5 separate regions of the Homo sapiens genome follow, and regions 2, 3, 4 and 5 are each linked to region 1. Evidence: promoter capture Hi-C in 16 types of primary human blood cells and fetal thymus (Javierre and others, 2016). All regions are on one chromosome and are shown on one strand. The core of a region is centred on a gene start or on the middle of the fragment in contact, and the rest is flanking DNA. Distances in the headings are between cores, read along the strand shown.

The links. The method cuts DNA at HindIII sites, captures the fragments that hold promoters and counts their contacts. A CHiCAGO score of 5 or more calls a contact.
Region 2: a fragment that was not itself captured here is called in contact with the fragment with the promoter of ENC1 in region 1 in 2 of 17 cell types (M0 macrophages and M2 macrophages); the score reaches 5.6 in M0 macrophages.
Region 3: a contact is called between a fragment that was not itself captured here and the fragment with the promoter of ENC1 in region 1, in 4 of 17 cell types (M0 macrophages, M2 macrophages, M1 macrophages and 1 more). The highest score is 9.1, in M0 macrophages.
Region 4: a contact is called between a fragment that was not itself captured here and the fragment with the promoter of ENC1 in region 1, in 1 of 17 cell types (endothelial precursors). The highest score is 6.2, in endothelial precursors.
Region 5: a contact is called between a fragment that was not itself captured here and the fragment with the promoter of ENC1 in region 1, in 1 of 17 cell types (endothelial precursors). The highest score is 6.5, in endothelial precursors.

What each region holds. Positions count from the first base shown.
Region 1 is chr5:74,639,303-74,642,218 of GRCh38, forward strand. ENC1 (ectodermal-neural cortex 1) reads right to left here and starts at 1,426. Exons shown (of 3, transcript NM_003633.4): 1 at 1,005-1,426. It also overlaps a transcript of HEXB not described here. RefSeq lists enhancers at 875-1,234, 1,696-2,411, 2,412-2,916 and a silencer at 1,275-1,534. The HindIII fragment of the contact is 20,564 bases long and covers 1-2,916 here.
Region 2 is chr5:74,016,370-74,019,285 of GRCh38, forward strand. No RefSeq gene overlaps it. Among named protein-coding and RNA genes, the nearest start is that of LINC02122, 85 kb to the right of the region's middle. The HindIII fragment of the contact is 2,144 bases long and covers 394-2,537 here.
Region 3 is chr5:74,036,728-74,039,643 of GRCh38, forward strand. The region is part of intron 2 of LINC02122 (long intergenic non-protein coding RNA 2122); the gene reads right to left. Among named protein-coding and RNA genes, the nearest start is that of LINC02122, 65 kb to the right of the region's middle. The HindIII fragment of the contact is 9,651 bases long and covers 1-2,916 here.
Region 4 is chr5:74,075,047-74,077,962 of GRCh38, forward strand. The region is part of intron 2 of LINC02122 (long intergenic non-protein coding RNA 2122); the gene reads right to left. Among named protein-coding and RNA genes, the nearest start is that of LINC02122, 27 kb to the right of the region's middle. The HindIII fragment of the contact is 646 bases long and covers 1,175-1,820 here.
Region 5 is chr5:74,118,291-74,121,206 of GRCh38, forward strand. No RefSeq gene overlaps it. Among named protein-coding and RNA genes, the nearest start is that of LINC02122, 17 kb to the left of the region's middle. The HindIII fragment of the contact is 4,647 bases long and covers 1-2,916 here.

The DNA of each region.
Region 1 (2,916 bases), core at 176-2,675:
GCATTTTTAAGCCCCCAGAGAAATCACATTTGCATACCAAGTAAGTGGCCAAGAAAATGCACACATGTACTTAACCTACGTCTGCAAAGAAGACAGAGAAAGGGCTGCTATTACTGTGAACATCAAAAGGGCTTCAGTTACAGTAACTTCAGTTCACTTCATGCTCCTAACTCAGGCTCTCTGCCTCCAATGCTTAGCGTCCCGCACCCTTCTCCAGGTTTTGAACCTGATCTCAATCCAATCAAAAGAGAAACTAAGCAGATTTTTTTCTGGGCATTTACATTACCGGTAACAATAGAACATTATAAAGATCTTGTTAACAAAAGTAGCTTCTTGCCAGAGTCTTTTTATTAACACTTGCAACGCTATTTAACAAGCTGGCCATGCCTGTGTGACACCAAACCGCATGTGGATAAATTCAGTGTTTCATCTCCAGGCCCACCAATTCCTATCCTTTGTAACTAATAATGTTAACACGACAGATCAAGAAACTAGTTTTTCAGAAAGCAGTTTTCATTCATTCTCTATAGACATTTCCGCCGCAGTGAACATGCCCGCACTCAGGGTGTCTGTGCATGGCCCCAACTTTCCTCCAAGCCGGGGAGGATGCAACGTGGGCCAACCATCCCGCGCGCTCGGCCCTGGAGGCTGCGGGGAGCGACGCAGCGCGACATTCACCCCCAGGAAAGCGCTGCTTTCCGCAGAGGAGAGAGGCTGACTGTATCCTTAGCTCGGCTCCTCGCTTCCCCAGCGGCTCGCCCCAGACATTGCACCGCGGAGGGGAGGCCGGTCGACCTCTCCGGCGATGCCCGGCTTCTGCCTGCTGTGGGAGGGCAGCGGCGGGCACCGTGATCTCCGCACCGAGAAGAGCTCCCCTTGCCCTCTAGTCGAAGCTCCCGAGTGCTCGGAGCACGCTCACCCCTCGCGAACACACCCCTGCAGCCGAAGCAGCCCCTGAAGCCCGCAGCGCCTGCAACAGGTCCGGGGCAGTGGGGGAAACTTACAGCAGTGGCGACTGGCCGCAACGCACAACTGAGTTCTAGCGACGGTCACGGGCAAGGAGGCGACGAACCGGTCGTCTCAGCCCAGGGAAGCGGTGGCGAATGCCCCGGAGAAAGGAGGGCCAGCCGGGGAGAGGACTGCGCCCCGAACGATGGCTCGCGGACCGGCTACCGATGGCGTTCGCCTCCGTCTGTCGTCCCCACGCCGCGGACCCGGTGTCCAGGACCCGCAGAGCGTCTCCGGAGCGCGTCACGGTAGGGCAGAGCAAGCCTGCCACTGCAGGCGCCGCGGAAGGAGGCGGGCTGTGCGCTCGGGGGAGGGAGCTAGAAAGCGCCTTGTGTGCCGGCGGCCGCCAGGCGTCTGGACCGGGTCTCCGCAGCGCCACCGCCGCACCGCCTCCTCTCCGGCTGCCAGAGCAGTCTGCGCCCCGCCGCCGTGCGCCCCGCTATAAGTGGCGCGGCGGGGAGGGGAGGGGGCGCGTATGCAAAGAGACCGACACCGGGGGAGGGAGGAAGCGCATTAGCGCGGCCTGTGGTGTAGGAGGAGGAAGAGGAGGAGAAGGAGTGGGAGGAGGAGAGGAGCTAGAGAAGAGCGTGTCGGGGGAGTTAATCGGGAGAGGAAGCGGGAGAGGGGGGCTGCGGGGAGTGCAGAGAGACAAAGCGGACGCACTGTCTCAGCCGCTGGCAGCTGCAACCCCGGGAACCGAGAATAAAATAAGTTTTCCCGGGTTCGAGTGTCTGCGCCTCTTTGGGCCAGCCTGGTTAATGGACAGCCCCGGATCTGAGGGACCCACCTTAGGGGAGCGCAGCCCGGGGCTGTGCGCTTGGTGATGCCAGAGCCCGCGAGATGCTCTAAAAAGGGCTGCAAGGGGCGAGCTGGGTATCCGCAGGACAGGCCCTGGGCACGCATAGACAGCGCCTTGGGTAGGACACCCAGAGTGGGGAGAGATAGTGGCAATGGACGGGCAAAAGTCTGGACAGTTTAGGGACACTCGGGTTGAGCAAGCCAGGACGTTTAAGTTTCTTGCTGGCAGAGAGCCAAAGAGACTCCAGCCCCAGGCATTTCCTATGTGTCCTCCCTCCCCACTCCCCAGTGGGTGCGGCACCCCCGGCTGGACTCTGCCCTAAGCCAGGCGACTGCAGGGGCAGCCGGGGCGCAGTCCTGCGGGGCGCGCACCACGTGCTTTTCAGCCAATCGCCGCGGCCGCTTGATTCAAAGTGAACTCCTCAAAGCAGCAGCCACGCCGCCTCCTCTCCTAGCGATTAAGCCTCCATCACCTTCTCCTGTTTTTTATCGCTCGGTGGTGTTAGTTTGGAGTTCAGTAAAGAAATGGCCCAGCACACACACACGTTTAATAGTCCCGCGTGTCAGGAGAAGGGAAGGCGATTCGAAAAATAATCTCGCGTGGTGATCACTTTTACGAATCCCATTTATCTTTGCAACTAGAGGCTTGTCTTTCCACTGGGAGTTAAAATATCTGTCTTTTATTCGGTATTTGGAGCTAAGTCTATAAATGAACGGGATAGATGACCGGTCCAGCCCCCTTGTTTTACAGGTGGGGAACCGAGGCCCAGGGAGATGTGAATTGCCTGGCTCGTAGTCACTTAGCAACAATGTCCCAGCTCTGCAGCTCGAGAGTGAGGGCCCCACGACAGAGTTTATTCCGTCCCCGGGTCCCCGCGTCCCCAAGCGCCCGCGCTTCGCCTCCCAGCTTGCTTTAAAACACTAGGCGCAGGAGCGATTTAAACTGGCTAAGGAGGCCCCACATGGCGCTTCCAGAGTCCAGACTGCTGAAACCAAGACTGTCAGTTCTTCATTCTAATTTCATTTTCCTTTATCCTTGTTCCTTCCTGGTATTTGCGCCGAGAAATTTCGCTCCTTGCAAACAAAGAAAGACAGTGCCCTCTGAAGTCC
Region 2 (2,916 bases), core at 216-2,715, 620 kb before region 1:
ATTGGCCAGCCTGGTCTTGAACTCCTGACCTCAAATGATCCTCCTGTCTCGGCCTCCCAATCCTTGTTGGGATTACAGGCATGAGCCACCATGCCTGGCCCCCATTGCCAATCTTGAAGGAAAAGAGGAACAGCACCTGCCGGTGTTGTGCACCCCAGAGAGGTGGGGCTAAAGGATGACTCACTCTTGGCCCCTGGTACTGAGGACTGCAGGTGTCTGCAATCCTGGAGGAGGCCAGTAGGGGCGTCCCACCTCACACTCCCATTTTATCCTCATCTGCTCCTACTTAACAGGTCCTCTGCCTGCTCCTGCTCACCCTACTGACCTGTCTCCCTCACACAGGGAGTCCCCAGAAGCAGAGAGAGGAGCGTCCTCTCAGAGGACTTGCCAGGAAGCTTTCTTCTGCCTGGAGTCCACCGTTTTCCCTCAATCTGGCTGCCCACCACCTTTCTTTCTCTGCTTCTCTCACTCTCATATTCCCGCAGATGGGAGATGACAGTGTAAGGGGGAGGTGAATGGGATTCTTTTGTTTCTCTGGTCCTTAAAGTCTATAGGGGAGAGTTTCAGAATAAGGATGTGACTGATCCTAATCACTTTTGAATTTTCTAGTCTCTTAGGCTTGTGGTTAAGACTGGGATCTGGGATGGGGAACCACATTTGTCAAGGACGTAATAGTTTTCTCCTCAGCTTTCTAGAAAGAATGAGGGATTTTAATGGAGCTAGAGCAAGAGCTCAGCAGAGCTAGGGAGAAACAAAGAATTATCTTGGCTAAGACTGAGGGTAGCTTCAGGAAGGGCTGAGGTACCTGGGCATGTAAGGCTGTGTCTGCCTGGAGAGGTCATCAGAGGGGCTCCTGTGGGAGGAGTCAGAGGGGGCCAGGTGTTGTTCCGTGCCTGAGCCTGCAGGTGTGGGAGTGGAGCCAGGAGCCTTTGGGCCTGAGGCTGCAAAGACGTTTCCTTCCTACTTCTTCTGGGGATTATGAGTCACTGAGTTGCAGATAGGGGATGACTCCAAAGGACTAGGGAGTCACTAATACAAGTGTCCTGTTAGGTTGGGATTTCCTTGAGGGCAGGGTTCATGGTGTCTTCCTTGTAACTTAGCCCCCAGAACAACACCTGATACTCAGTAGGTGCTGAAAGGATGGTTGCTGAGTGAATGAATGAATGAAGACAGTTGATATTTCTGTTAACTTTCTCTTTAAGCATGGTGGTAAAAGCACTCACCAGCTGGAACTTTTCTTTCTAGATTATGTGTGGGAGTAACTGCCAAGTAGAGTAATCCCCTTGTCCCCTCCTCATCTTCAGTGCCTTCTCCTCTTCCCCCAGACAATAGAAAGGTAACTTGGGACTAGGTTTGGGGCCCAAGCCAGCTTTCTGAGCTCCCAGTTCCAAACACGTGTCTATTCCCTGGTGCCCTGGAACACCTGTGCCTGAGAAAAGCCCATGGGAGAACCGTGAGTCTGACTTTTCTTTTTATTCAGCTCTCAAGTCCAAGGCTGTAAAACCTGGGCCAGAGCTCTAGACAGGGGTGTGCCCTTGGTGCTTTGGGATCCAGCAAGGAGAGCCTTCCAGACCACAGGCTTTGTCCAAAATCAATCACTCTTTATCTGGGGCACAATTGTGAATAGCCATCCCCATGCCAAAACTGGAGATTGCCAGGGCTTAAAAGGCCAATTAACATAACCCCAGGAGTTCTGAGTGCATTGCCATAAAAACCAACGGCCCTGCTGCCTACTCCAATTCAGAGGCATCTTGACTCACAGGGCGCATGACTCAGACTGCTCCAGGCAGATTTTAATAGGTTCTAGGAACATCTCCTCTCACTACTGTCTGAGGACAGGAGGCTCTGCTCAGGTGATAATTGCCTTGAACTCGAGTCTACTGAAAACTGGCAAGAAAATGCTGTTGTAGCCAGGGAGTTTTTAGTGCTTGAGAAGGCCAAAAGCAAAGCCAGGGATCATAGAGACACAGTAAAACCTGGTTTAACCACTGGGCTGGGAAATTGCATGGTCTCAGGAGACCACAGAGACTCCGCAGTCTTCCATGAAAAGTCCAGACGTACTTAGTAGGCAGGAAACCATAGACGGGATTTAGTGTGATAGTTCCAAGTGGGACCTATAGTCTCAGACTTCTGGCTGCACCATCATAGGGAAGCTCCTAGCTTCTATGAGCCTCAGTTTACTCATCTTTAAAATGGAAGTAATCGTAGGTTGTTGGGAGGGTTAAACAAAAACAGCATAGTGTCTGGTAGGCAATAAATGTCTGATACATTAACTTTCTTCCTCTGCACTCAGTAGGGAGCCAAGATGAAGTCAAAGGTTGGTCAGGACACTCTTCCTGGACATTTATATTAGATAAAATATTGTCCTCTCTTCCCACCACTGACATCGAATCTAACAAAGAAAGAGAAATAAAATATATAAACTGCAATTGGAGGGTTGATTCTTTTATTGATGAGTAGCAAATTCTCTGCAGAACCCACAATACTTAAGCAGTACTCCAGGGCCACATGAAGATACTGTTGGTGACTACTCAACAAGCTTGCATTAAGCGCCTATGAAAAACAACCATATGGCTTAGACCTGCCCTCGGGAAGTTCACAGTCTAGGTGGGAAGACACATTCAAACACATAATGTGGCTCTAGGGCAAAGGCTTGAATGCAGTCATGGTTAGTTAAACAAGCCTGTCTCAGAATCATCTGGCAAACTTGTTAAAACACAAGTCCTAGACTCCATCCCCACTGATACTGGGTCAGGGATCATGCCCATGATCTTACATTTCTAGCAAACTCCAGTGATGCTGTTCTGCTATTTTATGGCTGTTTGAGTAGCATCGTTATATTAGAAGTCAAAGTAATGGGATTATTTATAGAGGAGGGAAAGAGTAATTTCTTGCAGTAGGGAGGATGTTATCTGG
Region 3 (2,916 bases), core at 197-2,696, 600 kb before region 1:
TTAATTCCTGGATATAAAATTTCTGAGTACATGTACTTTAAGTTCTGATTGATATTGACATATTTTCCTTCAAATATCGAGCCAATTCATACTCTATCAAGAATATATGAGGCCTTGAGAATATTAAGTGAAAGAAGGCCACAAAAGACCACAGAATATATGATTCCTATATCATGAAATATCTAGCATAGGCAAATCCATACAGAAATCGATTAATGGTCACCAGGGGTTGGGGGAAGGAAGGAGCTAAAGAGTAAGTGGTATTGGGTGCAGGATTTCATTTCGGTGTGACGAAAATGTTCTGAATTCAGATAGTGGTGATGCTCCTACATCTATAAATATGCTAAACCCCACTGAATTTTATACTTTAAACGGATGAATTTATGATATGTGAATTCTATCTCGATAAAGCTCTTATTTTAAAAAATGCATGAGAGTACCTGTGCCTTCCACTCCCCTATTGACAGTGTATGTTCACACTTTTTCATCACCATTCTAATTACAACATCTTGCTTCATTCCTTCTAAAGGAGGACTAAGCAGGAAAGAAATAGATTGAACGGGCCAACCAGGTATTTTAGGATTTGGGCTGTCAACTTTATAGTCTAACAGCAATGGAAATGTCTAAGATGGAAACAATCAAAACAGTCAAGTTGTCAACAATTGCCAATGAATTCAGCAGCCTAAATGAAACAAGCAAGGAATGAGACTTAAGAATTTAAAAAAGGGATGAAGGACCCAGTTCTTCCAGCCTAAAGGATTTTGAAATCTCCGTTTGCTTAACCAAGGACATGAATGCCACAACTCCTGAATGCAGAACTTAATCCAGCAGCGTGCCTCCAGTAGAAAATAAGCTGAAGTTCAATGTATTCTCTATGAAGAAGGTATGGGAGCTGAGTAAAACATTTTTGTACACCATTCTAGAGCTACTGATAGGCTGAAAAAATTAACCATTGCTTGCCCCTCTTAAAACTCATATTTTCATTGAGATGGGTTTCCTTTGGATTCCATTTCGCCCCTTTTCACCTCTCACCTCCAAGATTAACCCTGCTAAATACTTCTTTTTCTATGATGTCTTATATTTCAAACTGCTTGTGCCTTGTGGGATTAAAAGCTAAATACTCTTTAACAAGAGTAATCCCCTAAGTGGACATGTTTCTGAGATTGTTAGGCATTTGATCACAAGTGAAAGATGAGAATGCAGCGGGAAGGTATGAAAGCACAGAGAGTAGAGAGGTTCAGGATTTTCACCTTAGTAATAATTGATTGCAAAGGGGCTCTCCAAGCCAATATTTGCATGAAAATAGGCCCATTCTTAATTCTCAAGAATAAGCTCATTTTTCTCCCTTCCATTGAGAAGCAATATGACCCCAAGGAAATACATCCCAGCAAGTGAGGCCTTGACACACTTGACCTTTCCCAGTTTTTGACTCAGCTTATGTGGCTTTAATAATAACAGCTAGCACTTACAAATAATGCATTTAATATGTGGCAGCCACTGTTCTAGGCACTCTATATATACTGGCTCATTTAAGACCCAACAATCTTGTGAGGAAAACACTATTTGTCCTGCTGCTATGGACTGAATTGTGCCTCCCCACCCCTGCAGAAATCATATGTTGATGCCTTAACCCCCAGTGTAGTGGTATTTGTGGATGGGCCTTTGGGGAGGCAACTGGGTTTAGATAAAGCCATGAGGGTGGGGTCCTCATAATGGGATTAGGGCCCCCCTAAGAAGCGGCTCCAGACAACTTGCTTCCCTCTCCTGTCACTGCCATGTGAGGACACAGGGAAAAGGCAGAAGAATTTCTGAAAGTCAGAAGAATTTCTCACCGGGGAACCAAGTTGGCTATCACCTTGATTTTGGACTTCCCAGTCTCCAGAACAGTGAGATATAATTATTCACTGTTTAAGGCACTCAGTCTATGGTATATTGTTGTGGTAGCCCAAGCTGACTAATGTAAACCAAAATTAAAATTCTAAGGCCCCTCAACCATCTGAATGAACCCTTCCTCCTGGCCAAGGACATTCCAAAATTAACCTGAAGAACAAGTTCAGGCTATGATGGGAAGGGGGAGCTGGACATGCCTCATTATACCCTCCTCCCTTTTGGAATTACTGGTAGAACGGACTCTAAGTTTGATAAGAAACATTTACAATTTATTCTCTCTGAAGTCTGCTACCTGGAGGCTTCATCTGTATGACAAAACCCTGGTCTCTATGACCTCTTATTGTACCCAGACATTCCTTTCTATTGATAATAACTCTTTCAACCAATTGCCAATTGGAAAATCTAATCTACCTATGACCTGGAAGCTCCCACTTCAAGTCATGCTGCCTTTCTGGACTGAACCAATGTACATCTTACATGTATGGATTGATGTCTCATATCTCCTTAAAATGTATAAAGCTGAGCTGTACCCCACCACCTTGGGCACATGTCAGGATCTCCTGAGGATGTGTCATGAGTGTGTCCTTAACCTTGGCAAAAATCAACTTTCTAAACTGATTCAGACCTGTCTCAGGTACTTTTGGTTTACATTAATATGAGTGCTACCTCATAGAGGAGCAAATCGAGACCCAGGGAGGCTATGTCATAGCTTACCTAGGGAGAACTAGAAGATGATGAAGGCAGGAGTCAAACTCACATAGTCTCACTCCAGAGTCTGTATTGCTCATTACTATGGTCAAATGCCTGCAATGAAGGCAATAGCTTGTGTATTCTGGCCTCCTCTTCTGCCATCCTGAAACTCCAAATTATGCCATCATGTGGACTCACAAAAGATTGTGTTCAGGCTTCCACTGTATGTCTCATGTGTTTTGGAGTTTGTGCCCTCTACTCATCTGGGAGCCTGGTAATGGCTGGGACTTTTTTTCATTTCCACTCCCTCAGTTCTTAGTGCAGTGCCTGGGTAGG
Region 4 (2,916 bases), core at 248-2,747, 560 kb before region 1:
TAGAGTCCTGTATATGTGCAGGAGTGTAGAATGTGACACTGTGGTTCCATTTTATGGTTTCAGTGCTCTAATTGAAAAGTGTCACATCCATACTTTATTATTCTCCAAACATCTAAAAGAGTAGAGATTGCAAATTTGAAAGATGACATGCACAAACTCATACACACACATACAAAGCCCATTAAAATTGTAATTCCACAATACTGTTGCTGCAACAAGGCTAAAGTAGCTATTTTCTTTCTTCAAAGTAAGTCCATTTAAAAGTGATCCAGAGACATATCAAGAAGTGTAAAGGTGGTATGAAAATGATTGGATTTTGAAAAAAGGTATAAATGTCAAGTAAGAATTTTACATACCAAATCTGTTTAGATAAAAAAATTAATCAAATTGGTTGTTTGACTACGAGCATAAGAAGGAGTATTCAGAATTCTTTCTCCTAATTAGTTACACTGGACAGCTTAAAAAATAGGGGCCTCAAACAGACAAAAGGGGAAAATAATGGTTCCTCTTCTTCCACCCACACAGCTTTCTCATTTGTAGCTTCAGGTACATCTAATCTTTTCCTTTTCCTTCTTGTTAAGGCACTATCAGGATTAGCTTGAATGAGCAGACGGCCTCAGTTAACTTAAAAGCGGAGCATCTGCAGGCCCCTGCTGAATTATACAGTCAGCAGGACAGAGGTTAATTAGGAGCCGACCAGCAGAGTCACAGTTCAGATGGACCTGAAGCTTCCAGTCAACTGCTGATAATAGCATAATTTCCAAGTTTAAGAGCAATACTTCCAGGGAAGGCTTGTGATCGCTTTTCGGGGCCAGTTATTACCTAGACCATTTATGTATATAAACTCAAAGCATTGTTTTGTTTTGTTTTCATCTCTTTTGTTTCAAAGTGTTGCTCCTAAAGTTGTTTTAAGATTTATAAATTTGTCAGATCAGGCTGTGATAGAAATAGTTGTTATTTCAGCCCTAGACATCTTAGGGCTGCCTCGTGCACGATTTCCCCATGACATAGATTTAACATTTGTATTTCACACTGCTGATGTGTTTCTTCTTAGTCAATCTTGCCCCCTCTTCCTGCCCTTCTGAGAGAGGATCAAGTTTCAGGGAAATGGACACACTCAGCACAATCCCCCCACCTCCTGCATTAAAAGAAAAAAAGATTTTTCTGAAAACCAAGCTTAAGCAAACATCAGGAACTTACTTCTCCCCCAACCTTCCATTTAATGCCAACTGTCCTTATTCACTTTTATCTTGCTTAACCAGTTTTGCCAGTGAACTTCTAAGTGACAGCATTCACCAACATGAGTTTTCTCTTTCTTGCCTCTTGTTGCCTTTGTTAGAACAGCTTAAGAATTAGGCACAATAAGGACACAGAATGGAGAAATCAAAGAAACAATGGGTCTGGAAATTTCTTGAGAAGAAAGGATTGACCACAATTATCATGAGATATACTTGTGGTAATAATCTATCACATGTAGGATGCATCCTATGGGCTGCCTCAGATTCTCCTGGCTTCACCTGTCCCCTGGGCCAGCAGCTGAGAGGAAGGATTCTATGTAGAACCTCATGGTTCCCCCTGTGTTGTCTTCAGCTCTTCCCTCACTTCTGATCTCATAAAAGGCCACTTCTTATGGTACAGGGTCTGCTTCCCCCAGAGGTCTGCTGCCAAAAGGGGCCAGGTGACCAACCCAGAACTACAAGAGGATTAACTTCCATGGGGTTCATTTTGGTAAATGGGAATGAGGAGACAAGAGGGAATCGGCAGGCTTTCTCTCCATTTGTCCCTCTGATGCATTGTTCTGAGGTATGGTTTTCCATACAAGCTTGTCCAGAGACATCCTGCACCTATCAAACAACTGGCTTTGTCACTTTGTGCCTTATTGTGACACAGTGGCCAAAGCCATCACTCACACATCCTTGCATTGGCTTCTTGTTTCCATTCTTTACTTCCCTTCCTCTCTGATATGGTCACACTTTGTGTCCCCACCCAAATCTTTTCTTGAATTGTAATCCCCAGGTATTGAGGGAGGGACCTGGTGGGAGGTGGTTGGATCATAGGAGCAGTTTCCCCCATGCTGTTCTTGTGATAGGGAGTGAGTTCTCATAACAGCTGATGGTTTTATAAGGGGCTCTTCTCCCTTTGCTCACTCTCTCTCCTGTTGCCACGTAAGACAGCCCTGCTTCCTCTTCCACCATGATTGTAAGTTTCCTGAGGCCTCCCCAGCCACACAGAACTGTGAGTCAGTTAAATCTCTTTTGAGTCAATTAAACCTCTTTTCTTTGTCAATTACCCAGTCTCAGGCAGTTCTTTATAGCAGTGTGAAAAAAGACTAACACACTCTTACTCTTGCTTTCCTGTGATAATACTTCCTACAAAGCACTCAACTTTTGCTTAGGCTTGTCCCTCTCCTTCCCCCAGGGAATCCCTGTTAAAATATATCCTGAAATTTCCTAGACAATTCCAAGTCATAGTTCTTTTTATCTCTATAGATGTTTTTGTTTGCTGAAGTATGTAATACAAGCTTGTCCAACATATGGCCCATGGCCCAGGACAGCTTTGAATGTGGCCCAACACAAATTCATAAACTTTCTTAAAACATTAGGAGTTTTTTTTGTTTGCTTTTGTTTTTTAGCTCATTAGCTATTATTAGTGTATTTTATGTGTGGCCCAAGACAATTCTTTCAATATGGCTCAGGAAAGGCAAGAGATTGGATACCCCTGATGTAATCCCTTCTCCTCCCCACTTCCCTTAGAAAATCCCAGAAATGGGATGTAGAAGACAGTAGTGGTCCTTTAATTCAAATCTTAAATTTCTGTCTTTGCTGCCTTGAGTTTAATTCATTTCCATCCCCTGCTTTTGTGTTTTCTTTCTTCTCTGTCTGGCAAAATTAGACTTATCCTTCAAAGCCCAGGTAA
Region 5 (2,916 bases), core at 272-2,771, 520 kb before region 1:
CCCTGGCAGATGCTGTACGAAAGATACAGTGGGGTGGATTGTAGCATGGTTGTGCAGGTCTCACCTGAGGGTAAGCTGATGAAAGTAATTGACACTGAAAAAGTTTAAAGTACTGAGGCACAGAGAAAATATGAAATATATGGTTATATCCGGGCCAGAGGAAAGAATTATGTAAGTGGGTTTTTGCAATTCCCCCCACCCTGTCAATATTATCTATAGATAGATGCATTATTTTTCCAATGTATGCACATGGAAGCATGATGATATCAAGAATGATAAAGGATCTGAGATTTTACCCAACTTGCAAAATGATAATTTAGCCTGCCACAGTTTCATGGATGCTGCCCGAGGACATGAGACTCCTGGTTCAGAGACAAAAGACATTTTGTTACTTCTATAAATAGCTATAGCTTGAGTATCATTTTCCTGCGTCAGTTCCCTAAGCCCTAAGTCCCACAGGGGTGAGGTAATGAGGGCCAGGTGACACGTGCACATGCAGTAAATTGTTTTTCAGGAGAGGAATTGTCAAGATTCCTCTTGAAGGAAGGAAACTTGAGTCCTCATAGTGGTCTACAAACAAATCTGCACCTTGCTCCAGAGGGAACACTGTATCTTCAGGGCTTGATTGTTATACCATCACTCTTGAAATAGTCCCTAAAAAAAGTTGCCAATTCTTTTACCTACAAGATGTTCAGGAACACAACAGACCAATGATGGTCTCTCAACAGATTTTATATATATATATATATATATATATATATATATATATATATATATATATATATATATATATATATATATATATGGATTCACTGACTACATAGAAATTTTTCATAAGTCTAATTTTTCCATCAGTGAATATAGAAAAGTACAACTGCTAACTTTTATTTCCATCCATGATATTCTTAGAAACTTATGTCACCCTGTGAGGTGGGCAAGTGTATTGGGCACACTAGTGACTGCTTTGTAAGGCTTGCCATACCCAACATCCCCTTTTAAGCTGAAACTGACTCATCCTTAGCCCCTGCCTTTGATAAGCAGTGTCCTGATCCATAACGACCAACAAGAAACTCTTTCTAGAAACATTGGCAATTAGCCAAGAGAAATCAACTAAGACCCCCTACAAAATTGGGGCTACCAAGTGCTCAAGAAATAGGCTGGGGAGAAGTGAAAGGAGAAAGATGCAGATACTCAAAAGGCTTTTATGAGGAAGGCCGTGTAGTACATGTGAAAGAAATGAAGGGAGTAGCAAGTCCGTGGAGCTACTGCAGACACCCACAGATCTCTTGCTTCAGATCCAGTAAAGAATGTCTTCTCAGCAACTTCCCCGTTTACTTTCTTTCCTTTTAAAAACAATTTATTATAAACAATTTTTATTATAGTTTATGTACAGAAAAGTGTAAAAATCACTTTCACAGATGGAACTCACCCCTGTATCCAGCACCCAACCCTCCAGAATCCTCTATCCTATTCCTTTCCTTTTTGCTAACTCCCACCTTTCAGGTCACTATCCTGTCTCCAGCAACATAGATATGTTTTGCCTATTAGCACGTACTCTTCGGTTACTAGATTTCTCTGTCTCAATATTAAGTTTGTGGGATGCATTCACATTGTCGCATGTAGCCTTGGATTATTTGTTCTAATTGCTGTGTAGCATTCCATTTATGAACATGCCACAGTTTATTCTTTATCCATTCTACTACTGGATGGTCATTTGGATACTCTTCAACTGGGGGTTATTGATAGTGTTGCTATGAGTATTGTAGTACACGTCTTCTGATAAACATGTGAGTGAGTATCTGTTGAAGTCCATCCATACAGGTGGAATGGCTGGGTCATGTGGTATGCGTATCTTCAGCTTTTACAGATGCTGCCAAAACTATTTTCAAAGTGATTGTAGCAATTTGCGCTCCGCAGAAGTGTATGAGAGTTCTGGCAGTTCCACATCCTTGTCAACACTTGATGTTTTCCATCTTTTTTATATTAGCCATCCTAGCAGCTATAAACAGCTATTAGTGAGTGTTAAACTCAGTATGCTTTAAATGTGAAACCGTTTTATCTTTCTAGCCCCTGCTCTCAACCACGCTGTCAAATCCTATTTTCCCATCACTTAATAATATGGTGGGGGAAAAAAATCTCAATTTTTGGGTTTTTCCATTATTAAAGTGTATTTGGGCTCAGTTTATAATATCAGTCTCTGATTCAGGGCTCATTCCCTCTTCCAGTCCAGACTAGACCTGTGGCTTTAAGAGCCTTAGAATGGAGAGGCACCCATTTACAGACCACCCTCTTCTCCCTTGTCTGGTTCTAGTTCTAGTTTGGGGGCAGGGAAGGAGTTTTTTTGAAAAGTCTTGCTAATTAGTTGTGTAAGGTCACAGTCATCTCCGGTTGGTGTGGCTGTTTCTCTGGCTACAACTGGTGTGGTATAATGGGGAATATTTCTTTTCTTTGTCCCCAGTTCCTGGCAGTTTCACAAATCCTTGGAATTTCCTGAGTGATAGGATATCTGTTATGCTAATGAGGTGACACTGATGGATCCCTAGATAGCTTTGGGATAAGAGATCTGGTCACCAGAGAGACCAACCGCATGGCTACGGAAATGGAACTTTAGACCACCTGACCTCCAGGGAAGGTGAGAGGAGCTAGAGATTGAGTTAAATCACTTGGCCAATGACTTAAGCAATTATGTCTAGTAATGAAACTCCAATAAGAAATCTGGACACCGATGCATAGTGGAGCTTCCTAATTGGTAAACACACATTAATGTGCCCAACATAAATAGGTATAGCTAGGGTATCATCATGTGCCTGGAGGGTGATATGTCCTGACTATACTTTCTCTCAGAATTTACCCTGTGTGTATCCTTTCTAATAAGACTGTAATGGTAAGTACGACCCTTTAGTTCTGTGAGACATT